Linked DNA regions of Homo sapiens: region 1 is linked to region 2. Evidence: promoter capture Hi-C in human tissues and cell types (Jung and others, 2019). All regions are on one chromosome and are shown on one strand. The core of a region is centred on a gene start or on the middle of the fragment in contact, and the rest is flanking DNA. Distances in the headings are between cores, read along the strand shown.

Region 1 (7,534 bases), core at 4,048-6,547, 380 kb after region 2:
CCATATTTCAGATGGGGAAACTGAGGCACATTGTTAAGTTGCTTGCTGCAGAGGCCAGAGCTGGGAGCAGGCCCTAAATATCAGGGTTGCCCTCTAAGACTCACGGCCAGTTGAGGGCGTTAGGTGGGGAAGGCACAGGGAGTTGGGGTTCAAGGGCGTTGAGAGCCAGTGGTTACTGTATTGCTGTGTGGTCTTGGGGAAGTGGCTCAGCCTCTCTGAGCCTTTGTGGTCTCTTCTGCAAAACAGGCAACCTGCCTAGTACATGGTGGCGATGACAAAGTGGGCACACATCGCTGACTCAGGGTCTGCCACGTGGCACTGAGTCAACAGCACCCCTCTTCTGGCCTAGGCCTGTGCAGAGCCAGGGTCTGGTGACCGAGGTCGGAGGGCAGGGGCGGCCCATCCAGCAATTCCCGTGCCTGCCCTGACCTCAGAGGGCGGCCGAGGGTTTGGAACTTCTCCCGGAGTCTGAACTCACACAAAGACCGGCTTTGTGGGGGCTCCTGGGGTAGGTGGGTGCCCACATGGCATTCCAAGGCTGGCAGCCTGGCGCTGGGGTGGGAGTGGAGGCTGAGCAGGGTCTGGGGCAGTGAGAGAGACCGGGGGCGGGTCTCAGGCCCTCCCTCCTCCGCCAGTTCTTCCACACTCCCCTCTTCATTCAGCAGATGTTTCTGGAGTCTGCAGGGACACCGTGGATAAGGAATTGGGCCCATGACCTCCCCTGTGGCCTGGGGTGAGGCAGACCAGTTGGGGTGCAGAGCTGGGGAGCAGAGGAGCAATGGGGATGCCTGGGGAACCTGCGGCTCAGAGGAGGCAGAGACTTGGGGGCCAAAGTGATGGGGATGTATAGTTTACCAGGGAAGAGGCAGGGGCTTGGGGGCCAGGCTTTGGGGGGTGTATAGGAGTTCACCAGGGAGGAGATGGGGCCTTAGGGTATTGAGGTCCACAGGGAAGAGTCAGGGCTCCAAGTGAGGTGTGGAGCTTGGTCCTGGGAGCTTTGAGGAGCTGTCAGCTTGTTCTCAGCAGGTAAGGGCTATGCCCTACTCTGAGATTTAGGAAGAATTCCGGAGCTGCAGGAAGGAGGTGGGTGGAGGGGGAAGCTCCAGGGCTGGGGAAACTGGGCAGGCTACAGGGCAGGGTGGACAGAGAAAAGGAGCAGACAGGGACAGGGGGATGGTTCTGCAGTGAGAGGCCTGGCCCTTATGCCTCGAGAGCTGGCCAGGCTCTCACCTTGGCCACCTCCCCAGTCCCAGCCTGGACGGGGGCTGTCCAAGTCAATGTTTCCCTGTTGGAGGAATCATCGGAGCCATGCCTTCCCAGAAACCCCACAAATGGCCCCCTGTGAACCCATCACCCCCTGGCTCACTCGGGGCTGAAGGCCTTGGACATGCCTGTTATAAACCCTGTCGGGGGCCAGGTGTGGTGGCGGGCGCCTGTAGTCCCAGCTACTCCGGAGGCTGAGGCAGGAGAATGGCGTGAGCCCAGGAGGCGGAGCTTGCAGTGAGCCGAGATCGTGCCACCACACTCCAGCCTGGGCGACAGAGGGAGATTCCATCTCAAAAAATAGTAATAATAATAATAATAAAATAAATAAATAATAAATAAACCAACCCTGCGGGGGCAGTGGGACTGGAGGCACTGCCATAGTAATGGGGCTCCTCCACCCTGAACAGCCCCGGGTCTGGGGCTCACTTGGAACCCCACCTCATGGAGCTGTGGGGTGAGGGTGGGGAGTGTTGAGCTGGACCTAGGGGATGGAACGGAACCCCCTGTAACAATCACCTTGAGCCCCTTCTCAGCTCATAGCAAGGATATGATGGGTTTGAGGGCTGGCATCAGACCCTACAGATAGTGGGGTTCAGAAGGGCCTTCTCTGTTTGTTTATAATAATAATCATAATAATAAATACAAAATAAAATTTTTGATTTTTTTTTTTTAGAGATAGGGTCTTGTTATGTTGCCCAGGCTGGTCTCAAACTCCTGGCCTCGCAATTCTCCTGCCTCAGCCTCCCAGAGCACTGGGACCACAGGCATGAACCACAGGCTTGAATTATAGGCTGCAGTGCGGTGGCATGGTCTTAGCTCACTGCAACCTCCGCCTCCCGGGCTCAAGGGATTCTCCTGCCTCAGCCTCCCAAGTAGCGGGGATTGCGGGCACCCATCACCAAGCCTGGCTAATTTTTGTATTTTTAGTAGAGAGAAACATGGGTTTCACCATGTTTGCCAGGCTGGTCTCGCACTCCTAACCTCGATCTCAGGCGATCCGCCTGCCTAGGCATCCCAAATTGCTGGGATTACAGGCGTGAGCCACTGCGTCCGGCATGACACTTTTTAAAGAAACAAATTCCGTTAGGCCCTCTGGGGTCTGTGGTGTTGTCACCTCTTCTGTGTGAGGAGTGCCCCAACGTGCAAAACTGAGGGCTGGTCTGTGTCCCCCGCAGGCCATGGACACCTTCAGCACCAAGAGCCTGGCTCTGCAGGCGCAGAAGAAGCTCCTGAGTAAGATGGCGTCCAAGGCAGTGGTGGCCGTGCTGGTGGATGACACCAGCAGTGAGGTGCTGGATGAGCTGTACCGCGCCACCAGGGAGTTCACGCGCAGCCGCAAGGAGGCCCAGAAGATGCTCAAGAACCTGGTCAAGGTGGCCCTGAAGCTGGGACTGCTGCTGCGTGGGGACCAGCTGGGCGGTGAGGAGCTGGCGCTGCTGCGGCGCTTCCGCCACCGGGCGCGCTGCCTGGCCATGACGGCCGTCAGCTTCCACCAGGTGGACTTCACCTTCGACCGGCGCGTGCTGGCCGCCGGGCTGCTCGAGTGCCGCGACCTGCTGCACCAGGCCGTGGGTCCCCACCTGACCGCCAAGTCCCACGGCCGCATCAACCACGTGTTCGGCCACCTAGCCGACTGCGACTTCCTGGCTGCGCTCTACGGCCCCGCCGAGCCCTACCGCTCCCACCTGCGCAGGATCTGCGAGGGCCTGGGCCGGATGCTGGACGAGGGCAGCCTCTGAACCCCGGCGCCGCCCAACCGCGCCCCTCGCGCCTTTTGGGGCTCTCCTGCTGGGCGCGGGTGGGGTTTGTGGGTTTTTTTCCACCTCTTTTCTCCCAATCGGACTCCGGCCAAACTCCCCTAGACAGATGGGTGACCTGTCTCCTTTGAGAGGATGCTGAGGCATCTGTAGCAGCTGTTTCAAACACCAATGTCACCTCTCCTCCTGGCCCCCGCCCAATGGGGAGAGGAATTTGGGGCCCTACTCTGGGGACCACCTTTCACCCGTTTGTACTTTCTGGGCCACGCCGACCCCTGGGTCGCTTGATGTAAAAGCCAAAAGCTGCTGCCTCCCACTTGGATCATGTCGCCTGGGATTTTCATCCCTCGCACAAGGACTACGGGTTCACACGGTGAACTGGGGGAAGGGAAGTGTTAGGGGGCAAGTCGCGGCACCCCCCCTTCCATAAACTCACGTCCTAACCCCCAGGACCTCAGAAGATGATCTGATTTGGAAATAGGATCATTACAGATGGAATTAGTTCAGATGATCTCATCTTGGAGTAGGGTGGGCCCCAATTCAAGGACTGGGGTCCTTAAAAAAAGGGGGCCTGGGGCAGGGCGCGGTGGCTCACGCCTGTAATCCCAGCACTTTGAGAGGCTGAGGCGGGCGGATCACGAGGTCAGGAGATCGAGACCATCCTGGCTAACACGGTGAAACCCCATCTCTACTGAAAATACAAAAAATTAGCTGGGCATGGTGGCACATGCCTGTAGTCCCAGCTACTCGGGAGGCTGAGGCAGGATAATCACTTGAACCAGGAGGAGGAGGTTGCAGTGAGCCGAGATTGTGCCACTGCACTCCAGCCTGGGTGACAGAGCAAGACTCTGTCTCAAAAAAAGAAGCGGGGGAGTGGGGGATTGAGGCCACGTGCAGTGGCTCACTACTCTAATTCCAGCACTTTGGGAGGCCGAGGCAGGAAGATTGCTTGAACTCAGAAGTTCAAGACCAGTCTGGGCAACATGGTGAGACCCTCGTCTCTACAAAAAAAAAATTATCGTGGTGGGCCGGGCGTGGTGGCTCACACCTGTAATCCCAGCACTTTGGGAGGCTGAGGCGGGCAGATCACAAGGTCAAGAGATCGAGACCATCCTGGCCAACATGGTGAAACCCCGTCTCTACTAAAAATACAAAAATTAGCCGGGCATGGTGTTGCGTGCCTGTAGTCCCAGCTACTTGGGAGGCTGAGGCAGGAGAATCGCTTGAACCTGGGAGGCGCAGGTTGCAGGGAGGCGGAGGTTGCAGTGAGCCGAGATTGCACCACTGCACTTCAGCCTGGTGACAGAGCGAGACTCGTCTCAAAAAAAAAAAAAAAAAAAAAAAAAAAAGTGACTGTGGTGGTGCACACGTATAATCCCAGCTACTTGAGAGATGACGAGGGAAGATCACTTGAGCCCAGGAGTTAAGAGGCTGCAGTGACCGATGATCATGCCACTGCACTCCAGCTTGGGTGAGAGTGGGACTCTGTCTTAGAAAGAAAAAAAAAAGTATTTGGACACAGACATGCATGCAAGGAAGGCCAATGATGCCGGCCACCACCAGGAGCTGGGAGAGGCCCAGGGCAGATCCCCTTCAGCCTTGGAGGGACCTAGCCCTGGCCACACCTTCATCTCAGACTTGCGGCCCAGAGAACTGAATGAGAATAAATGTGCGTGAAGCCCCTCAGTCCACAGGATGTGGTACTGGAAGCCCCCACTCAAGAAGGCTCCAGTGAATGCTGGCACGTTCAGCCAGGATGCCTCCGTGAAGCTGGAGACCTCTGCCCTGGGTCGGGAGGGGAAACTGCTCCAATCCAGGGACTGCCACATGGGAGGGGACGGAGCGTGCCCACCTCCCAGGGGTGAGGGGGGACCCACCTGAGATGTGTGCACATTTTATTTATTTATTGTTTTGAGACAAAGTCTCGCTGTGTCACCCAGGCTGGAGTGCAGTGGTGAAATCTCGGCTCATTGCAGCCCCTTCCTTCCAGGCTCAAGTGATCCTCCCACCTCAGCCCCGGGTAGCTGGGACTACAGGTGTGCACGAGCACACCCGGCTAATCTTTGTATTTTTTGTAGACAGAAGGTCTCACCATGTTGCCCAGGATGGTCTCGAACTCCTGGGCTCAAGCGACCTACCTACCTCGGCCTCACAAAGTGTGCACATTGTAATATCGTGATTTCATATTTGGAGAATCAGCAACCAACCAGCCAACCATGTTGCTTTTATAAGACAGAGCTGAGAAAGCAAAGCTTGGCTGTCGTCTTGGCTCTGGTACCACCCACGAGATGCGGGCGATTCTCAGCTCAGGGCGTGGAGGCGTGGTGTGGGGGAGTCTATTTGCCATTTTTGTTTGTCAGCAGGGGGCAGGGGTTCTCAAAGATTGCAAAATGCTGCTGCAGGTCAGGAAGGTTATTTTGGGTGCCTGTGGGGGAGGTGAAACAAGGTCCCATGACTGTTTTGCAGAACCTTGTCTGTGGAGGGTAGAGGTTGCGGCAGGGGCCTGTGGGCCTTACTTGGTGAGAAGGTAGGTCTAGCTGGCTCCATTCAGTATTTGAGACATTTGGAATTTGTCTGCATTTAAAACCAAGAGATCACACACACCTGTCTGGATTTGGAGTTTCTCTTGAAAACTCGCCAGTCCGGCCGTCTGAGCCTGCACTGACGCCTGGTGAAGCTGTGCAGGGGCCGCCCCTCTCCCTTTCACCACAGTCCTCTCCACTCCCTTTCGCCTCTCCCTGGCCTGCTGCACTCACTGATAGGAAATTCTGACCCCAGACTCGGAGCAGCCTTCCCGTGGTTCGGTTTTTGCTTCCGCGAAAAAGCCAAAGGCCTTGGCCAGAGAGCCAGCTGTTCCTACCTCTACCCCACGCTTCCAAGGCAACCTTCTCCACTTATCTTAGGCCGAGAGACAGCTCTTCAAGAACGTACATGGATCCTGATTTTCTCACGAAGTCCCGATGGAACCCTGTGCTGTTGAGACATCAGTGTGTAAAACTCTCTGTGTCCCTGTTGGGCTGTCCAGACAGTCTGGACTCTTGTAAATTTGAGATTTAATTAAAGGAAACAAACCAAATAGGACTGCGGAACAATTTAAATAAAAGCACACACCAGCCTGGGCGCAGTGGCTCATGTCAGTTAAACCTAGTGCTTTGGGAGGCCGAGGCAGGAGGATCACTTGAGCCAAGGAGTTCAAGACCACCCTGGGCAACATAGCGAGACCCTATCTCTAAAAATATATATATATAAGGCCAAGTGCAGTGGCTCACGCCTGTCATCCCAGCACTTTGGGAGGCTGAGGCAGGCAGATCACCTGAGGTCAGGAGTTCAAGACCAGCCTGGCCAAGATGGTGAGACCCCATCTGTACTAAAAAGTACAAAAATTAGCTGGGCATGGCGGCGGGTGCCTGTAATCCCAGCTACTTGGGAGGCTGAGGCAGGAGAATCACTTGAACCTGGGAGGCGGAGGTTGCAGTGAGATGAGATCGTGCCACTGCATTCCAGCCTGGGCAACAGAGTGAGACTTGGTCTCAGAAACAGAATAAAAAAATAAAAAATTATAGCCAGTCAGGGTGGCATGCACATGTGGTCCCAGCTATCTGGAAGGATGGCTTGGACCCAGGAGGTTGAGGCTGCGGTGAGCCGAGATCGCACCACTGCACTCCAGCCTGGGTGATGGAGCAAGATCCTGTCCAAAAAAAAAAAAAAAAAGCACACATATGCACACGTAAGGTCAGAGGGGAAGCTCCTGTGTGTCCCGAGATGCCCTGATGTATGCTGGTGCATCAGGCCACCCGGGCATCATCCTTGATGACAGCCAGGGATCCAGAAGCTGTGGGCGAATCCCAGCTGACCAGGAGAGAGTCCCCCTACCTTGGCCAGGGTACTGGTGGTAGGCACTGTTTCCCACGGCCTTTTCTGCACAGGAGGCCCTGGCAACCCTGTCGTGCTCATCTTCTGGGCCCCGTGGAGCCTCAGAGTCAAGAGCTGGAAAGCCTCCTGGCCTTGGCGGGGGGGTCTTCAGACCTCAGAGCACTGCCATTCTTGGTCTAGGGGCCCTTCCCGCTGATGTGTGCGGCCGTCAGTCCTTTCCTCATGTGGTGGCATCAAGTGTGTGCTGGGAAGTCAAGGCTGGCTGGTTCTTTTTCTTTTGAGACAAGGTGTCACTCTGTGGCCCAGGCTGGACTGCAGTGGCGCGATCTTGGCTCACTGCTGCCTTGGACTCCTGGGTTCAGGCGATTCTCCTGCCTCAGGCTCCTGAGTGGCTGGGATTACAGGTGTGCCCCACCACACCTGGCTAATTTTAAAATTATTTATTTTTTGGTAGAGATGGGGGTCTTGCTATGTTGCCTAAGCTGGTCTTGAACTCCTGGTGTCAAGAGATTCTCCCACCTTGGCCTCCCGAAGTGCGGGGATTCACGGGCGTAAACCATCCTGTCTGGTCTGTTTTTGTTTTTTAGTCACTGTTGCAACCCAGCTTCAAAAAACTACGGGAGGCTGGCCACAGTGGC
Region 2 (7,614 bases), core at 3,836-6,335:
CTCTGTCTCAAAAAAAAAAAAAAAAAAAAGACAGAGCTGGCTAGGCACAGTGGCTCATGCCTGTAATCCCAGCACTTTGGGAGGCCAAGGCGGGCGGATCACAAGGTCAGGAGTTCAACACCAGCCTGGCCAACATGGTGAAACCCCGTCTCTACTAAAAGTACAAAACTTAGCCAGGCATGGTGGCATGCACCTGTAATCCCAGCTACTCCAGAGACTGAGGCAGGAGAATCGCTTGAAACAGGAAGCGGGAGGTTGCAGTGAGCCAAGGTCATGCCACTGCACTCCAGCCTGGGCAACAAGAGTGAAACTCCATCTCAAAAAAAAAAAAGGCAGAGCTGGCCAGGCGCAGTGGCTCACGCCTGTCATCCCAGCACTTTGGGAGGCCAAGGCTGGCATATCACCGGAGGTCAGGAGTTCAAGACCAGCCTGGCCAATGTGGTGAAATCCTGTCTCTACTAAAAATAAAAAATTAGCTAAGTGCAGTGGCACACACCTGTAGTCCCAGCTACTTGGGAGGCTAAGGCAGGAGAATCGCTTGAACCCAGGAGGCGGAAGTTGCAGTGGGCCAAGATTGTGCCACTGCACTCTAGCCTAGGCAACAGAGTGAGACTCTGTCTCAAAAAAAAAAAATAAAGATGGCTGGGTGCAGTGGCTCTCACCTGTAATCCCAAAGCTTTGGGAGACCGAGGCAGGAGGATCACTTGAGGCCAGGAATTCAAGACCAGCCTGGGCAACATTGCAAGATCCCAATTCTAGAAAAAAAGATTTTTTTTTTTCCAAGATGGAGTCTCACTCTATTGCCCACGCTGGAGTGCAGTGGCACGATCTCGGCTCACTGCAACCTCTGCCTCTCAGGTTCAAGCGATTCTCCTATCTCTGCCTCCTGAGTAGGTGGGATTACAATGTGCCTGCCACCAAGCCTGGCTAATTTTTGTATTTTTAGTAGAGACGGGGTTTCACCATGTTGGGCAGGATGGTCTCGAACTCCTGACCTCAGGTGATCCACCCGACTCAGCCTCTGCAAGTGGCGGGATTACAGGTGTGAGCCACCACACCCAGCCCTCTAGAAGAATTTTAAAAATTAAAAAACACAGGCCTGGCCAGGTGCGGTGGCTCACGCCTGTAATCCCAGCACTTTGGAAGGCCGAGGCGGGTGGATCATGAGGTCAAGAGATCGAGACCATCCTGGCCAACATGGTGAAACCCTGTCTCCACTAAAAATACAAAAATCAGCTGGGCGTGGTGGCACATGCCTGTAGTCCCAGTTACTCGGGAGGCTGAGGCAGGAGAATCACTTGAACTCGGGAGGCGGGGGTTGCAGTGAGCTGAGATCGTGCCATTGCACTCCAGCCTGGTGACAGAGCAAGCTCCGTCTCAAAAAAACAAACAAACAAACAACAACAACAACAAAAAACACAGGCCCCAGAATGGACGCAGCTTGAGGACATCACGCTCAGTGAGAAACACCAGACACAGAAGGCCACAAAGTGTGTGATCCCATTTCTATGAAATGTCCAGGACAGGCCCATCCACAGAGGCAGGAAGTGGATTTGTGTTTACCAGGAGCTGGGGATTTGGAGAGATGGGGAGTGACAGCTAATTGGGTATGAGGTTTCTTTTGGAGGTGACGAAAATGTTCAGGAATTAGGGGTGATGGTCGCACAACCTTGTGGACACAGGAGAAACCACTGAATTGTACACTCTAAATGGGTGAACTGTAGGATATGTAAGTTATGTTTTTTGTTTTTTTGAGATGGAGTCTCGCTCTGTTGCCCAGGCTGGAGTGCAGTGGCTCAATCTTGGCTCACTGCAACCTCTGCCTCCCGAGTTCAGGTGATTCTCCTGCCTCAGCCTCCCGAGTAGCTGGGATTACAGGTGCCCGCCACCACGCCTGGCTAATTTTTGTATTTTTAGTAGAGACGGGGTTTTACCATGTTGGCCAGGCTGGTCTCGAGCTCCTGACCTCAGGTCATCTGCCCACCTCAGCCTCCCAAAGTGCTGGGATTATAGGTGTGAGTCACTGCACCCAGCCAATGTGAATTGTATCTTTAAAAAAAAAAAAAGCAACAAGGCCGTGTATGGCAGCTCACTCCTGTAATCTCAGCACTTTGGGGGCGCCAAGGTGGGCGGATCACGAGGTCAGGAGTTTGAGAGCACCCTGGCCAACATGGTGGAACACCATCTCTACTAAAAATATAAAAATTAGCTGGGTGTGGTGGCGGGCGTCTGTAATCCCAGTTACTTGGGAGGCTGCGGCAGGAGAATCGCTTGAACCTGGGAGGCGGAGCTTGCGGTGAGCCGAAATTGTGCCACTGCACTTTAGCCTGGGCGACAGAGCAAGACTCGGCCTCAAAAAAAAAAAGCGGCCGGACTCGGTGGCTCACGCCTGTAATCCCAGCACTTTGGGAGGCTGAGGCGGGAGGATCACAAGGTCAGGAGATCGAGACCATCCTGGCTAACAGTGAAACCCCATCTCTACTAAAAATACAAAAAAGTAGCCGGGCATGGTGGCGGGTGCCTGTAGTCCCAGCTACTCGGGAGGCTGAGGCAGGAGAATGGTGTGAACCCGGGAGGCGGAGCTTGCAGTGAGCCGAGATCGCACCACTGCACTCCAGGCCCGGGCAACAAAGTGAGACTCTGCGTAAGAAAAAAAAAAAAGCAAAAAAAAAGCCGGGTTTTGTGGTATGCACCTGTGGTCCTAGCTACCAGGAGGCTGAGATGGGAGGATCATTTGAGCCCAGGATGTTGAATGTGAGGCTGCAGTGAGCTGTGATTGCATCTCCAGCCTGGGCAACAGAGCGAGAGACCCTGTCTCAAAAAAAAAAAAAAAAGGGAGAAAAGAAAAATCCAAATCTCACAAGGTTACGTGGCTGATTCAAGGTCACAGGGGAAGGTGACTGGACCCCTAGCCTGGATCTCTTTCTCTTCTACCTAATCCTCCTGCCTCTCCCTGCCAGCCTCTCCCCACTCCCCTCCTTGGGGTAGGGTCGGGGTGCAGCCCCAGGAGAAGCCAGCTCCAAAGCACAGGAAAGTCAAATGCCGTTTGATTCCGGCCCCGGGGCCTCTAATTGCTATTCCTGACACAGATTGTAATTAGAAGGCCCCTTTCAAATATTTATACCTCAGACATCTAGTTTTATCCGGCAGGGAGACGACTTGGATTTGATGAGATCTGTCAACAGCTCATCCCCGTGGCCCGGAATTGCCTTGCGGCTGACAGAAAGCAGGACAATTACCCGCTGTGCTCCCTGGCCGCCCCCAGGGACGCAGCCTTGTCGCTGATCTGAAAGGGTGGGGGGAAGCGGGGGTGGCCATGCACTTCAGGAGGGAGGAAGGAGTTCAACAGGTCTGTGTTGGGGGACACAGCCAGTGCAGGGAAGGGGAGGAACAGAAGGGTCTAGACGCCTGCATCCTTCAGGGGCTTTGCCTTGTTGGCTCCAGGCCTCAGTTTTCCCATCTGGATAATGGAGCTCATCGTGGAGAGGAGTTGCAGAACCGATTCCATGAAGAGCATTTTGGGAGGCCGAGGCCGGCAGATCACCTGAGGTCAGGAGTTCCAGACCAGCCTGGCCAATGTGGTGAAACCCCATCTCTACTAAAAATATAAAATTATATAAAAATTAGCTGGGCGTGGTGGCAGTAATCCCAGCTACTCAGGAGGCTGAGGCAGGAGAATTGGTTGGACCTGGGAGGTGGAGGTTTCAGTGAGCTGAGATCGCAACACGGCACTCCAGCCTGGAGGACAGAGCAAGGCTCCGTCTCAAAAAAATAAAAAGAGAGACTCCAGTGCCACCCTAGGCCAGGCCCCACGGCGATGTGCAGGCAGAATCAGCTGTGGAGTGGCTCTGAACAAGTCCCTCCCATCTCTGTGCCTCGGTTTCCCCATCCATAAAATGAGGAAGCCAGGTGATAGCTCGGTCCCTCCTGGAATCCTTCCTAGAGCTGTCTGGGATTTCCTGTTAGAAACCACATCTTTCAAATAAGGAAAACCAAGACTCAGGGAGTGACAGACCCTGCCCTCAGCCCCGCCGGGCTGCCAGGAGGCCCCAGTCATAGCAGTGTTGGTTCTGACTTCTGTCTTGTCCTCCAACTGTGCTCTCCAAGCTATGACCTGTGCCTGACCAGGGGGCTGGCCACAAGAGGAGAGAATCTGGGGTCCCATCCTTCCTGACCACCCCTCTCTCACTCCCCTCATTAGGAGGAACTGGGCAAGCCCCCTTATGGGGAAAGAAAAAAAACGGTTCTGCACTGGAAAATTGGCCAGTGGCTCCCTTTTCCTCTCCCACCCCCCAAACCTCTCAGTGCCCTCACCCTCAGACAACGACAGCTGACAACAGGCAGCCAGTTCAGGCCAGACCCCTCTCACTTCTGCCCCTCTTCCCGCCACCGCTCCCCCCCACCCCGCCCCCAGAAGCCACAAAAGGACAGATGCAGAGGACAGGCGCCAGGCACAGATACCATCTCCCTTCCCCAAGCCAGCTGCCCCCAACCCTCCCCCTGCCCGCAATTAGTCCTCTGGGGCGGGAGCGGGGCACAGAGCAGAGCCCTCTTGGGGGAGGGGAAGCCCGATCCGCACCCACCCTTCCTTTGCCCCCCTCTTCCTTCTGCTGCTCCAATATCAATTTCAGCCAGTGACCTCTCCACCAATTTGCACATCCCCACTCTCCCGGTCCGTTTCACCGCCAGACATCGGTTCCATTTCGACCCTCACTGGCGGTCATTCCCACCCCCTCTGCTGGTCAATTTCACCCCTTTTGGCGGTCAAGTGCAGTCCCCCATTTCCCGGGCAATTTCCCCCTCCCCTCCTTCTCCCTCTCCCCTCCCCTCCCCAGCAGTGTCACTCCCAGCTGCTCCCCACCTCCCGCGCTCCGCGCTCGCTGCGGCCAGTCTCGGGCGTCCCGGTCAGTGTCCAGCTGCCGCGGCCTCGGCCCCGGCGACTCCCGCCCCCAGCCCCCCTTCCCTCCGCGGGCAGCGGCTCCCTCCCTCCCCAGAACAGCTGAAGGTCTCAGTCACCTCCGAGGGGAGCGCAGGGGGAGGGGAGGGGCGGGGGACGCGGCGGAGGGGAGGTGGGGGAGCCTTGACGCTGCTGCCCGGGACGCGGCCCGGGGCTGGTGGGAACAGGGGCGTCCTCCTGCGCGCCCCCCTCCCCAGCGTCCCACCTCCCGGCGGCGGCGGGGAAAGTCTCTCCGAAAGCGTGAAGGGGGATTGGAGGAGGTTTTTATTTCCCTTTGTGCGGGTGGCTGGGGCCGGATCGAGGCGGCGGGGGCCGCGGGACTGGGGGCTCCCCGCTGAGCCGAGAGGAGCGCGACAAAGGATGCGTCCCGCCGGGGTCACAGTCTCCGCGGCCCAACTTTGCGCGCGGCGCCCGCGCCCCTGGGGAGCCCGCCCGCTGCGCTGAGAACCCAGGCGTCCGGGCTGGGAGAGGGGCCGGGAGCGTCCGCAGGTGGCGCTGGCCCGGATCTCCCGACCCCAGGAAGGGATCCCGGAGCTTCCTGGAGGCGGCGGGCGGCCGTGTCGCTCCAGGGAACCGCGCTGCCCGCGGAAACTCCGCGCGCCTCCGCGGATGCCCCTCGCCCTAGCCCCCAGCGCGCGGGGTTCGGGGCCCTGCGAGGTCCCCCCTTCCCCCGCGGTGCTTCCCAAGCTGGGCTAAGGCGGGCTTCTCTTCCTCCCTCCTCTGTCGCCTCCTTTTCCTCCCCCTCGTTCACCTTTTCCTTCCCTCTATCCATCCAGAGCCCCGCCAAAGGGCGCACCTGATCTTTCTCATCCTTCCCTGCTCTTCCCTTCCTCTCCACCTCCTCCTCCTCCTTGGGGAAAGGGGCCCGGAGAAGGGCATGTGGGGGCCCCTCTGACAGTGGCCCGATTGGGGTGACAGGCGCCCAAATGGCCAAGTGGCTACGGGACTACCTGAGCTTTGGGGGTCGGAGGCCCCCTCCGCAGCCGCCCACCCCGGACTACACCGAGAGCGACATCCTGAGGGCCTACCGCGCGCAGAAGAACCTGGACTTCGAGGACCCCTATGAGGACGCGGAGAGCCGCTTGGAGCCGGACCCCGCGGGCCCTGGGGACTCCAAGAACCCCGGAGATGCCAAGTATGGTTCTCCCAAGCACCGGCTCATCAAGGTGGAGGCTGCGGATATGGCCAGAGCCAAGGCCCTTCTGGGCGGCCCCGGGGAGGAGGTGCGTGGCTGGGTGGCCTGGGGAGACTGGGTGGAGGGGAGGCTCAGGATGGGCTCTCTGGATCGTGGAGAGCTTATTTTATGTGTGATCACAGGAGGGGACTGGGGCACCAGACAGACCCTTCCCAGTCCTCCAGACCTCCACCTGCTTGGGGAAGTCTGTTCTTTTTATGTATTTATTTATTTTGAGACAGTCTCCCCCTGTCACCCAGGCTGGAGTGCAGTGGTGGGATCTCGGCTCATTGCAACCTCCACCTCCTGGGGTTCAAGCGATTCTCCTGCCTCAGCCTCTCCAGTAGCTGAGATTACAGGTGTGTGCCACCACACCCGGCTAATTTTTGTATTTTCAGTAGAGACTGGTTTCACCATGTTAGCCAGGCTGGACTCAAACTCCTGACCTCAGGTGATCCTCCCGCCTCTGCCTCCCGAAGTGCTGGGATTACAGGTGTGAGTCACTGCGCCCGGTGGATATCTGTCCCTTTTCAATGCATAATGCTGGTTGTCCTTCTGCCTCTCTGACCACCCTGCTTGGTCTCCGGGTCCTCCTCCTCCTCCATGGTCATCCCCTGCAGTCCCCCAGCCCCCTCCCCTCAGCACCCCTTCCTCTTGGAACCTGGTGGGATCTTCCTAAAATAGATCTGAGTGAGTTGCTCCCCTGCTGGGCACCTAAATATCCTCCCGGTGATGCTGCCCTTCCTACCACTATGTTCCCGTTTTACAGAAGCGAAACTGAGGCTCGCAGAACGGTAGTGACTTGGCTAAGGTCTCACGGGGTTCTAGCTTACTAGGATTTGAACCCAGGCCACCGGGTGCAGTAGCTCATGCCTGTAATTCCAGCACTTTGGGAGGTCGAGGTGGGAGGATTGCTTGAGCCCAGGAGTTCGAGACCAGCCCGGGCTAACAGAGTGAGACCTTGTCTCTACAAAAAAAAAATCAAAACATTAGCTAGTTGTGGTGGTGCACACCATAGTCCCAGCTACTCAGGAGGCTGAGGCAGGAGGATCACTTGAGCCTAGAAGGTCAAAGCTGCAGTGAGTCATGATTGCGCCACTGCACTCCAACCTGGGTGACAGAGCAACACCCTGTCTCAAAAAAAAAAAAAAAAAAAAAAAAAAAGGCTGGGTGTGGTGGTTCACACCTGTAATCCCAGCACTTTGGGAGGCCAAGGCAGGTGGATCACCTGAGGTCAGGAGTTCCAGACCAGCCTGGCCAACACAGTGAAACCCCATCTCTACCAAAAATGCAAAAATTAACCAGGCGATGTGGCGTGCGCCTATAATCCCAGCTACTCCTGAGGCTGAGGCAGGAGAATTGCTTGAACCCAGGAGGTGGAGGTTGCAGTGAGCCAACATCGCGCCACTGCACTCCAGCCTGGGTGACAAGAGCGAGACTCTGTCTCAATAAATAAATAAATAAGAAGTAAGACGTTGGTAAG

What was found. The method cuts DNA at HindIII sites, captures the fragments that hold promoters and counts their contacts. A contact is called where the count stands out against the background at its distance.
Region 1: a fragment that was not itself captured here is called in contact with the fragment with the promoter of SHD in region 2 in 1 of the 25 tissues and cell types used here (lymphoblastoid cells).

Annotation. Positions count from the first base shown.
Region 1 is chr19:4,649,426-4,656,959 of GRCh38, forward strand. It overlaps TNFAIP8L1 (TNF alpha induced protein 8 like 1), which reads left to right. Exons shown (of 2, transcript NM_152362.3): 2 at 2,442-6,143. The coding sequence starts at 2,445. The coding sequence ends at 3,005. Among named protein-coding and RNA genes, the nearest start is that of TNFAIP8L1, 14 kb to the left of the region's middle. RefSeq lists a silencer at 5,307-5,356. The HindIII fragment of the contact is 5,354 bases long and covers 2,621-7,534 here.
Region 2 is chr19:4,274,181-4,281,794 of GRCh38, forward strand. It overlaps SHD (Src homology 2 domain containing transforming protein D), which reads left to right and starts at 5,086. Exons shown (of 6, transcript NM_020209.4): 1 at 5,086-6,180. The coding sequence starts at 5,884. The HindIII fragment of the contact is 14,506 bases long and covers 1-7,614 here.